Regions from separate parts of the Homo sapiens genome. Here regions 2 and 3 are each linked to region 1. The links are contacts of gene promoters, found by promoter capture Hi-C in blood cells and fetal thymus (Javierre and others, 2016). All regions are on one chromosome and are shown on one strand. The core of a region is centred on a gene start or on the middle of the fragment in contact, and the rest is flanking DNA. Distances in the headings are between cores, read along the strand shown.

Region 1 (3,585 bases), core at 325-2,824:
GATACATGCTATAAAGAAAATACAAGCTGAGTTAAGGAGATGAGTGGTATTATTTTAAACAAGGCTGTCAGGGACGTCATCTCTGGAGGTGATGCTTGAGCAGAGACTGGAATAAAGTGCTCAAGTACTGGTTGAATTAGACGCGACTGGAACAGAACGAGAAGCTAAATCATGTATATCCTTAGACACCAAAGTCTGGTTTTCTCTCTGTGTAACATGGGATCAGTAGAGTGAGTAGAGGAAGGACATGATCTGAGTTAGATTTTTTTTTTTTTTTTTGAGACGGAGTCTCGCTCTGTCGCCCAGGCTGGAGTGCAGTGGCACAATCTCGGCTCACCACAACCTCCGCCTCCTGGGTTCAAGCAATTCTCCTGCCTCAGCCTCCCAAGTAGCTGAGACTATAGGCGCGCGCCACCACGCCTGGCTAATTTTTTTATATTTTTAGTAGAGACGGGGTTTCACCATGTTGGCCAGGCTGGTCTCGAACTCCTGACCGGTGATGCGCCCGCCTCGGGCCCCCAAAGTACTGGGAGTACAGGCGTGAGCCACTGCGCCCAGCCCTGAGTTAGATTTTAAGAAGATCTCTCTGGCTGCTGTATTGAGAATAAAGTACTGGGGGCAAGAGTTGACACAGAGGCAACTTTTAGAAGGCTACTGCAATAATTCAGCCCGAGTAATCGTGGCTTGTGGGAGAAGTGTAGGAATGGAGATGAGAAGTCAGATTTAGGATATATTGTGTATACATAACGGAGAGGTGTAGTCAGAACAGATGTGGAAGCAAGACAGGGCAAGGCTGACTCACGGCTTTTAGTCTGAGCAGCTGAGTAAAAATGGTACCGTTTACATCAAATAGGGAACGGTGGTGAAGGAGCAGGTTAGAGGGGAAACAGGGAGCATGGCTTTGGACCCTTAACGTTTGAGATTCGACAGAAACCCTGGTTCACGGAATTGATCCAAGCTACATACTGATAATTGGGATTAGTGAGTTACAATGGCGTTGCAAGCCATGAAACTGGTTCAGACCGGCTGAATGAGCGGGACAGGAAGGGGCTGAAACACTTGAGTCCTTGTGAGAGCCCCAGCTCCAGGGGCAGCCTCGGGGGAAGCTCCCCGGGCGATGACTGCGGTAATGGAGCCGTAGGAGCTCCACGAGGTGCAGGTTCAGCGTCTTAGAAGGATGAGCAGCGGCTCGCCACAGCTCGGAGGCGGGTGGGCAGCGCTCCAGGCCGAGGGCCCCGCGTCGGCAAAGACACAGGACCCACGACAAGGCGGCCACGGCCTGAGTCAAAAGGAAGGCCGCGCGCCTCCTCTCCAGCCCGCAGCAAGCGGGTGCCACGAGGCACTCAGCCGGTCCCCGAAGTTCCTCTCACGCGGCCCCAAGACCACCACCGTAGTCCAGGCCAACAAGCGCTGCCGGGACTCCCGAGGCCACGAATGAGCCGGGAGCCACCAGTAGCCGGCCAAGTCTCGCGAGAGCGCGGCCTCGCCCTCCCAGCATGCCCCGCGCCGCCGCCGCTGCCGCCGCCGCCGCCGCCGCCGCGCCGCGGCTTGAGGGCGGGAGGCTGGGGGAGGGTAGCGGAGCCGGCGCCGCCGCCATGTTGGGTCTGAAGCGGCTGCTGTAGGCGCCGACGGAGCGAGCGGGCGTGCGGAGCGGGCGACAGTGGCGTGGGATCTGCCTCTCTGCGAGCAGCTGGGAGCGGCGGCGGCGGCGCCATGAGCGGGGGCACCCCTTACATCGGCAGCAAGATCAGCCTCATCTCCAAGGCGGAGATCCGCTACGAGGGCATCCTCTACACCATCGACACCGAAAACTCCACCGTAGCCCTTGCCAAAGGTACGCGGGACCGGGCCTCAGGGTGGGGGCCGAGCCGGGCGCCGCTCGGGGCTGCTCCCCGCTCCGGCCCGCGGCCTCCTCGTTCCCTCCCCTCCCTCCGTCGAGCTCCGGGAGGCCTCTCGCCTCCCTTCTCCGGGCCCCGGCGTCGCGGGCCGGACCGCGGCCTCCCCGCGGCTCCCTGGTTTCCGCCCCCCGGAATGTCCGCGCCTGAAGCCCGGGGAACTACGGGACTGAGTGCGCGGCGGGCGGCCCTGAAGTCCGAGAACGGGCCGGAGAACACGGAGAAACGCGTCTTCCAACTCCGAAATTCGGGGCTTCTGCCGTCTTAGCACAAAACAAAGCCGGAGTATTCAAAGAATTTTTCCGCCCAGCTTGAGTTCATCGCGGATGCGTTGACTACACAGCACCCATTTTCTCACTTTGTTCATTTCAATTCGTGGCGATCTTCCTCTGGTGAACTCTTGAGTAATGTGCTAAAACTTTGGGTTTGCTCTGCGACGCAGACATTCTCGAAATGCCATCGATGCCGTGGAGCAGATCCCATCTCCCTCGGCTCATCCTCTGTTGGTATTTACCTGTTAAACCGGAATCCTCAAAGCCTGTTGTGCAACCACCTCATTAGGGCGCGTGGTAAAAATGCTTGCTGCTGCCCCGACGCCCCTGTTTCTGGAAACGGGTTCAAGCTTGATCCAGGATCCTTCTTGACCAGGCAAGCTTGACCTTTGATCCAGGCTCAGTGGGCGTTGACTGATCCCTCTGGAGGCTCTCTGGGAAAGGGAATTCGGCCGAGAAGGAAGGTGCCCCTACCCACAGTGTTAATATTTGGCATCCCTAGAGTCTGTGTGGGTTTTGTTTCCGTTCACACGTGCAGGGCCTTTGCTCCGCCAGGAAACCAGAAAGAAAATAAACTTTAGCTCCTGAATCTTAAAGGAAATCTCACAACAGTGTAAAATACTTTGAGGGAAGCTAGATAACCTAGGTGATTTTCCCAGCACTTCTGGTAGAGGTGGGAACTGCATAGCATGGTTAGGGACCCTGTGGATAGGTTAGGTCCAAGGATAAAGAAGAAGATTTTCGAAATCTGTAAAATTTTAAAAATCGTTAACAGATAGGGGAGTGGTTTCACGGGATCAAGTATTTAATAATATTTCTTGGATGCTCTGGTAAATCCTTTATTTATTTATTTATTTATTTATTTTTCTAAGATGGAGTTTAGCTCTTTTTGCTCAGGCTGGAGTGCAAAGGCAATGATTTCGGCTCACTGCAACGTCCGCCTCCCGGGTTCAAGTGATTCTCCTGCCTCAGCCTCCCAAGTAGCTGGGATTATAGGCGCCTGCCACCACCCCTAGCTAATTTGGTATTTTTAGTAGAGACGGGGTTTCACCATGTTGGCCAGGCTGGTCTCGAACTCCTGACCTCAGGTGATCCACCCGCCTCGGCCACCCAAAGTGCTGGGATTACAGGCATGAGCCACCGCGCCCAGCCTCTGGTAAATCTTTTTAATAGCCCTGGTGTTGGGACAAATCTTATACCTGGGTAGGGAACCTTTTGATGTTACAGAACTGTACACCATAAAGGAGTAGTATGAGATGGTGATAGTTGCACAACTCTGCAAATTTGCTGAAGATCATTGAATTATACACTTTTTAAAATCACCAAGTCTAATTTTAAAAGTAGTATGAAAAACCAGGGAGTACCCCCACATTTCCCTCTTCACCTTGTGAAACATTATGCAGTGACACATTACCTCA
Region 2 (3,550 bases), core at 576-3,075, 280 kb after region 1:
CAATTTTATTGTATAGTTTTTGATAATGTTAATGTCTGAGATCTTTATGGGTGAGTCTGCTGTCATTTCTGCTATTTCTCGTAGTGATTTGCTTGTATGGTTTATGATTTTTTAAAAACTGAATGTGTATTAGAATTGTGTCTGGTAATTCTTTAGGGACCCATTGTAGATGTATTTCTTCAAAGAGCATTTGTGGTTATTATATTTGGGTGCTTGGGGCACTGCCAATACAGGACCACTTTTAAATTAGGATTTTCAATACCTATGTATTCAGACCACAAACCTGCACGTGCCCTATGTTATTGTCATGAATTATATGGGAAGATACTCCTCCCCCTCCACTAAGCACCAAGTTTAAGATCATTTTTATGGAGAAAGTATTTTTCTCCTCTCTTTTCAGGTCCTTGCTTTGTGTAAGGGTCTCCTGTTTTAAGAGTTCCTACCTTAGTGGTGGGTGGGGTAGGTGTATCTCTTAAGGCTAACACTACTTGGATGTTCTCTTTGGATTCCTTCCTTCGATGTTGTGTCTGCAGACACTTCGCTTTCTTACCAGCTCAAGAAGGCTTCCTAGGAAATACTAGCCAATACTTTGACTGTTGTTTAGGTTCTCCTTTTTATCATTGAAATAAAAAGACCTGTTTACCTTCAGAAATTTCAAAAAATATCTAGTTTGCAATGGTACTGTTATTTTGCAGTGTCATTGATGCACACTTACTTTTTTTTATCTTTTGAGACGGAGTCTAGCTCTGTTGCCCAGGCTGGAGTGCAGTGGCACAATCTTGGCTCACTGCAACCTCCACCTCCCAGGATCAAGCGATTCTCCTGTCTCAGCCTCCTCAGTAGCTAGGATTACAGGTGCATGCCACCATGCCGGCTAATTTTTGTATTTTTAGTAGAGACGGGTTTCACTATGTTGGTTAGGCTGGTCTCGAACTCCTGACCTCATGATCCGCCCACCTCGGCCTCCCAAAGTGCTGGGATTACAGGCATACAGGCATGAGCCACTGCGCCCGGCCTTTTTTTTTTAAACTGATGGGGTCTTGCTATGTTGTCCGGGTTGGTCCTGAACTCCTGGGCTCAAGCAGTCCTCCCACCTTGGCCCCCCAAAGTGCTGGGATTACAGGTGTGAGCCACTGCACTTGGCCCGATGCGCTCTTTTTTTCCTTTTCTTTTTCTTTTTTTTTTTTTTTTTTGAGGTGGAATCTTGCTCTCACCCAGGCTGGAGTACAGTGGAGTACAGTGATGTGATCTCGGCTCACTGCAACCTCCACCTGCTGGGTTCTAGCGATTCTCCTGCCTCAGCCTCTCAAGTAGCTGGGATTACTGGCACATGCCACCACACCTGGCTAATTTTTGTATTATTAGTAGAGACGGTGTTTCACCTGTTGCCCAGATTGGTCTCAAACTCCTGGCCTGAAGTGATCCGCCCTTCTCAGCCTCCCAGAGTACTGGGATTTCAGGCGTGAGCTATTGCGCCCAGCCTCGATGCACTCTTAAAATATTTTATTTTCATGAAATTTCAGTTTGAAGGAACAGAATCAAATTGCCCAGTCTGCCATCTTGATTTAGTTTTCTATTTAAACTTTTATTGTATATGTTATATTTTTAATTTCTAAGAACTTTATTTTTTGGTATCTTTTTTTTGAGATGGAGTCTTGCTCTGTCACCCAGGCTAGAGTGCAGTGGCGCGATCTCAGCTCACTGCAACCTCCACCTCCCAAGTAGAAGTGATTCTCCTGCCTCAGCCTCCCCAGTAGCTGGGATTACAGGCGGGTGCCACCACGCCTGGCTAATTTTTGTAGTTTTAGGAGAGACAGGGTTTTACCATGTTAGCCAGGCTGGTCATGAACTCCTGACCTCAGGTGATCTGCCCACCTTGGCCTCCCAAAGTGCTAGAATTACAGGAGTGAGCCACCGTTCCTGGCCGATACCCAGTTTTTAAATTATTTAAAAAAAATTTTTTATAGCAGCCTGAAGCTGTAGTATCCCTTTGAGCTCACCAACAGTACTAATTACTGAACTTATTAAAATGTCTGTTATTTCCCATCACATCCTTCCGGTTTCTTTGCCTGCTTAGCTCCATGCCACTCTTGGACTATTAATAGTAATATATCTGGCCGGGCACGATGGCTCACACGTGTAATCCCAGCTCTTTGGGAGGCCGAGGCAGGCAGATCACCTGAGATTGGAAGTTCGAGACTAGCCTGACTAACGTGGAGAAACCTGGTCTCTACTAAAAAAAAAAAAAATATATATATATATATATATATATATATATATATAAAATTAGCTGGGCATGGTGGTGCATGTTTGTAATCCCAGCTACTCAGGAGGCTGAGGCAGGAGAATCACTTGAACCTGGGAGGCGGAAGTTGCATTAAGCCGAGATCGCGCCATTGCACTCCAGCCTGGCAACAAGAGCGAAACTCTGCCTCAAGAAAAAATATAGTAATATATCTGGATTTCATTTTTTTACATTTGCAAATGAATTCCAGCCTGGATTAATGTTAGCCCAGGTATTAATAGTGGTAGCAATTGCTTTTATTATTGTCAGTTTCCCTTAGCACACTTACCTTCCCGGTGAAGCCCAAAATCAAACAAATCTTTCTCCCTCTGTAGCCTGCTTGGCCTGGGCAGTTTGCTTCTAGCCCTTCCACCTACCAGTATTCATTGTACGGAGAAGCTATTTTACAGAGGACGGCTTTAGTGTCTCTTGAGGGATTTAGTTCTGTATTCTCAGGGGAATCCGTAGAGTACTCCTTTAGAATTCATTCCTCTTAGCAGACTCAACACTACATTGTAGTCACAAGATAAAGGTTTGTGTCTCAGCTTCTTGTCTTCTGACATTTGTTGTTTCTGTTGGATCTTGCTAGTGTTTTCTAAACTTTAGTAGAAGCAGGAGCTTGGAGCTTTTCTTAATTTCAGTGTAATTTGTATATTTGCCTTGGTTCTTAATTATTTTTTTGTTTAGTATTAGAGAAATGGTAAATAGGTACATATACTGCCAGAAATACATTTTTTTCCCTCATTATATAAATGTTATTCTAATCAGAAAATTTGGGAAGGCAGTGATGTTGATTCTAGACAACTGTGAAAGGCACTATCGTTAACTGGAGAAATTAATGTGTTGGTCTTGTCAGGAGATTGCTTGCTTGATAAGAATAGCCTCAGGGAGGGACACCAGCTGCTGATACAATGATGGCACCACAGATTAACATGCCTGTGCCCTTACTCTTGCCAAATCAGGTTGCAGAAGAACGCGGAGTCTTATATAATACAAGGAGATGTCTTTTCAGCAAGCCTAGCTAGCCTAGCCTTTAGCTGATTAGAAAAGAAGGTTGAGGCCGGGCGCGGTGGCTCACGCCTGTAATCCCAGCACTTTGGGAGGCCGAGGCGGGCGGATCACGAGGTCAGGAGATCGAGACCATCCTGGCTAACACGGTGAAACCCCGTCTCTACTAAAAAAAAAATACAAAAAATTAGCCGGGCGAGGTGGCGGGCGCCTGTAGTCCCAGCTACTCGGGAGGCTGAGGCAGGAGAATGGCGTGAA
Region 3 (3,087 bases), core at 73-2,572, 350 kb before region 1:
CCAGGCTCTCCCACCTCCCCAGACGTCTGGGGAAACCCACACTGCCCTGCATAGGTTGTGGTGTGCAGCCTCCGGACTGCAGATCCTGAACGCGCATCAGGAGGGAGGGAGGGAGGTTTCGATGCTCTCGCCCTGGCCAGCACCGCTCTGAGTTGCTGAACTGGCCTCAAGGCTTCTCTTGCATCAGGGAGAGGCTTCCGGCACCACCACTGGCACTCCTCCTTCTCCCTCCCTTTAGCCTCCCCCAGTTCCCATGCCCAGGTGGAGGAACCCGTGTAGAAGCCCAGCCCAGGGAGGGAATTCATCAAAGCACCTTCCCACACAGCCTCTAGTTTGCCTCCTCTCCACTCCCACCTTCCAGCCCCAGCCTGGCTAGCCACGTGGGGGGCTCCTGTGCCAAGGAGTGCCCAGCTGCCGGGTGAGTGAGCAGCCCTGCACAGAAGGCAGCTGACTACCATACACACTACATGTGTGGAGAGCACCAGCCTTGCAGCCTGGCGAGGCTCTTGCTTTGAAGAAATAGAAGACTAATTATTTTATTTATTTATTTATTTATTTATTTATTTATTTATTTATTTATTTTTGAGATGGAGTCTTGCTCTGCCACCCAGGCTGGAGTGCATTGGTGTGATCTTGGCTCACTGCAACCTCCACCTCCCAGGTTCAAGTGATTCTCCTGCCTCAGCCTCCCGAGTAGCTGGGATTACAGGCGCCCACAACCACGCCTAGTTAATTTTTGTGTTTTTAGTATATGTGCTGCTGAAGTGAGCATGAATTTTTGTGTTTTTAGTACAGATGGGGTTTCACCATGTTGGACAGGCTGGTCTTGAACTCCTGACCTCAAGTGATCTACCCTCCTTGGCTTCCCAAAGTGCTGAGATTACAGGTGTGAACCACGGCACCCAGCCAGAAAACTAATTTCAAAACAAAAACAAAAGCACCCCTGTATGCACAGATTCTCAAATTGTATTTACTATTGGCAAAGAAAGGAAGGGGGCCCCTTAGTGTCCTAAAACCAGGAGAGATGAAATCGATTATGGAACATCAGTTGATGAAATACATTTATCCTTCCACAAATATCTACTGAGTGTCTACAATCAGCCTGGTTACTGGAGGCCAGGCTCTGAGTCGTGAGTGTCCCATGAATCACCAGCTCTCCAAACCCTGACATCTAACACCACCCACTTCCCACCCTCCCCAGGAAGAAACAATATTTAATAGTTTCATTTACACAGAAAAAGAAGGTGCAAGCTCTCTCCCTAAGGAAGAGCCAAAAAGCAGCCTCAACTGGCTCCAGAGCCTGTGCTCCTGGATTAAGAACAGAGATCAGTGTATTGGTTTCCTCTTGTGGCTATGACAAGTTACCACTAATGTGGCTTAGAAAAATACTATTTTTTTTTCTTTTTCTTTTTGTAGAGACAGGTCTCCCTATGATGCCCAGGCTGGTCTTGAACTCCTGGACTCAAGCGATCCTCCCACCTTGGCCTCTCAAAGTGCTGGGATAACAGGTGTGAGCCACCATGCCTAGCCCAACACTGATTTTAAGATGATATATTTTCATCTTACAGTTCCAGATGTCAGAAGTCTGACATGGGTCACACTGGGCTAAAATCAAGGTGTCAACAGAGCTGCTCTCCTTTCTGGAGCTCTAGGGGAGAATCTTTCCTTGTCCTTTCCAGCTTCTAGAGGCTGCCTTCATTCTGTAGCTTGTGGTCCCTTCCTTCATCCCCAAAACCAGAAGTGTAGCATCTTTAGATCCCCTCACCCTTGTTTTTCTGGACTCTAGTGATTCCATTGCCCACCCTCCACCCTGCAGATAATCTCCCTATTTTAAGGTCTACTAATTCACCTTAATTCCATTGGCAATCTTAAACCCCTTTGCCACATAACCTAAGATACTCACAGATCCCAGGTTTAGGATGTGGACATATTTGGTGGCATTATTCTGCCTGCCACATCTAGGTAGCAACTTTATCTACTCAAACAATTGTTATTGAACACATGCCCTCTTTCAGGCACTAGGATATAGTAGTGAATGAATACAGAAAAGCCCCAATCTTGTGGAGCTTACACTCCAGTGAAGAGAGATGGACAAGAAACAAAAGTAAGGCTGGGTGCGGTGGGTCACACCTATAATCCCAGCACTTTGAGAGGCCCAGGTGGGAGGATCGCTTGAGCCCAGGAGTTTGAGACCAGCCTGGGCAACATAGGGAAACCTCATCTCTCCAAAAAAAAAAAAAAAAAAAAAAAAATTTGCCAGGTGTGGTGGCATGCACCTGTGGTCTCAGCTAATCCAGAGGCTGAAGTGAGAGGATTGCTTGAGGCTGTTGAAGCTGCAGTGAGCTATGATCACGCCACTGAACTCCAGCCTGGGTGACAGAGCAAGACCCTGTCTCAAAAAAGAAAAACAAAAAATAAACAACAAAAACCCAATAACAAAAATAAGTAAAATGTGTCATAGGTTAAATAGTGCTAAAAATAAAGCAAGGAAGGGGAATAGGAGTGTGTGTGTTGCTATTTTGGACAGTATGCTGGACATCTCCCATTTACCCTGCCCCCTGCCCTGGGCCTGGAAGCTGACATTGTGAACAGTGTGAAGGGGCTCCCTTACCCTCTGGCTTCCTGTTGGGCATGGCTGATGGGAAGCATCTTCAGGAGACTGGAGGGCAGAAGGCAAGTCAGCCTCTCTCATCACTCATCTAAAGACCTCAGCCCTGGGCCAGGCCCAGTGGCTTATTGCCTGTAATCCCAGCACTTTGGGAGGCCAAGGTGGAAGGATTGCTTGAGTCCAGAAGTTGGAGACCATCATGGGCAATATAGCAAGAACCTGTCTCTATTTAAAAAAAAATAAAGAAATATTTCTTAACGGGTATGGTGACATATACCTGTAGTCCCAGCTACTTGGGAGGCTGAGGCAGGAGGATCCCTTGAGCCCAGGAGTTTGATGCTGCAGTGAGCTATGATCATGCCACTGCATGCCCACTGCCTGGGCAACAGAGCGAGACCCTGGTTCTAAAAAAAAAAAAAAAAAAAAGAACATAAAATAAATAAATAACAAAGACTTCAGCCCCTGCCAGAGGCTTTTCT

What was found. The method cuts DNA at HindIII sites, captures the fragments that hold promoters and counts their contacts. A CHiCAGO score of 5 or more calls a contact.
Region 2: a contact is called between a fragment that was not itself captured here and the fragment with the promoter of LSM14A in region 1, in 1 of 17 cell types (naive CD4 T cells). The highest score is 5.5, in naive CD4 T cells.
Region 3: a fragment that was not itself captured here is called in contact with the fragment with the promoter of LSM14A in region 1 in 2 of 17 cell types (monocytes and erythroblasts); the score reaches 6.4 in monocytes.

What each region holds. Positions count from the first base shown.
Region 1 is chr19:34,170,930-34,174,514 of GRCh38, forward strand. It overlaps LSM14A (LSM14A mRNA processing body assembly factor), which reads left to right and starts at 1,575. Exons shown (of 10, transcript NM_015578.4): 1 at 1,575-1,834. The coding sequence starts at 1,714. The HindIII fragment of the contact is 4,496 bases long and covers 1-2,515 here.
Region 2 is chr19:34,454,932-34,458,481 of GRCh38, forward strand. The region is part of intron 12 of UBA2 (ubiquitin like modifier activating enzyme 2); the gene reads left to right. Among named protein-coding and RNA genes, the nearest start is that of WTIP, 25 kb to the right of the region's middle. The HindIII fragment of the contact is 4,092 bases long and covers 1-3,550 here.
Region 3 is chr19:33,820,931-33,824,017 of GRCh38, forward strand. No RefSeq gene overlaps it. Among named protein-coding and RNA genes, the nearest start is that of KCTD15, 26 kb to the left of the region's middle. RefSeq lists an enhancer at 1-398. The HindIII fragment of the contact is 5,420 bases long and covers 1-3,087 here.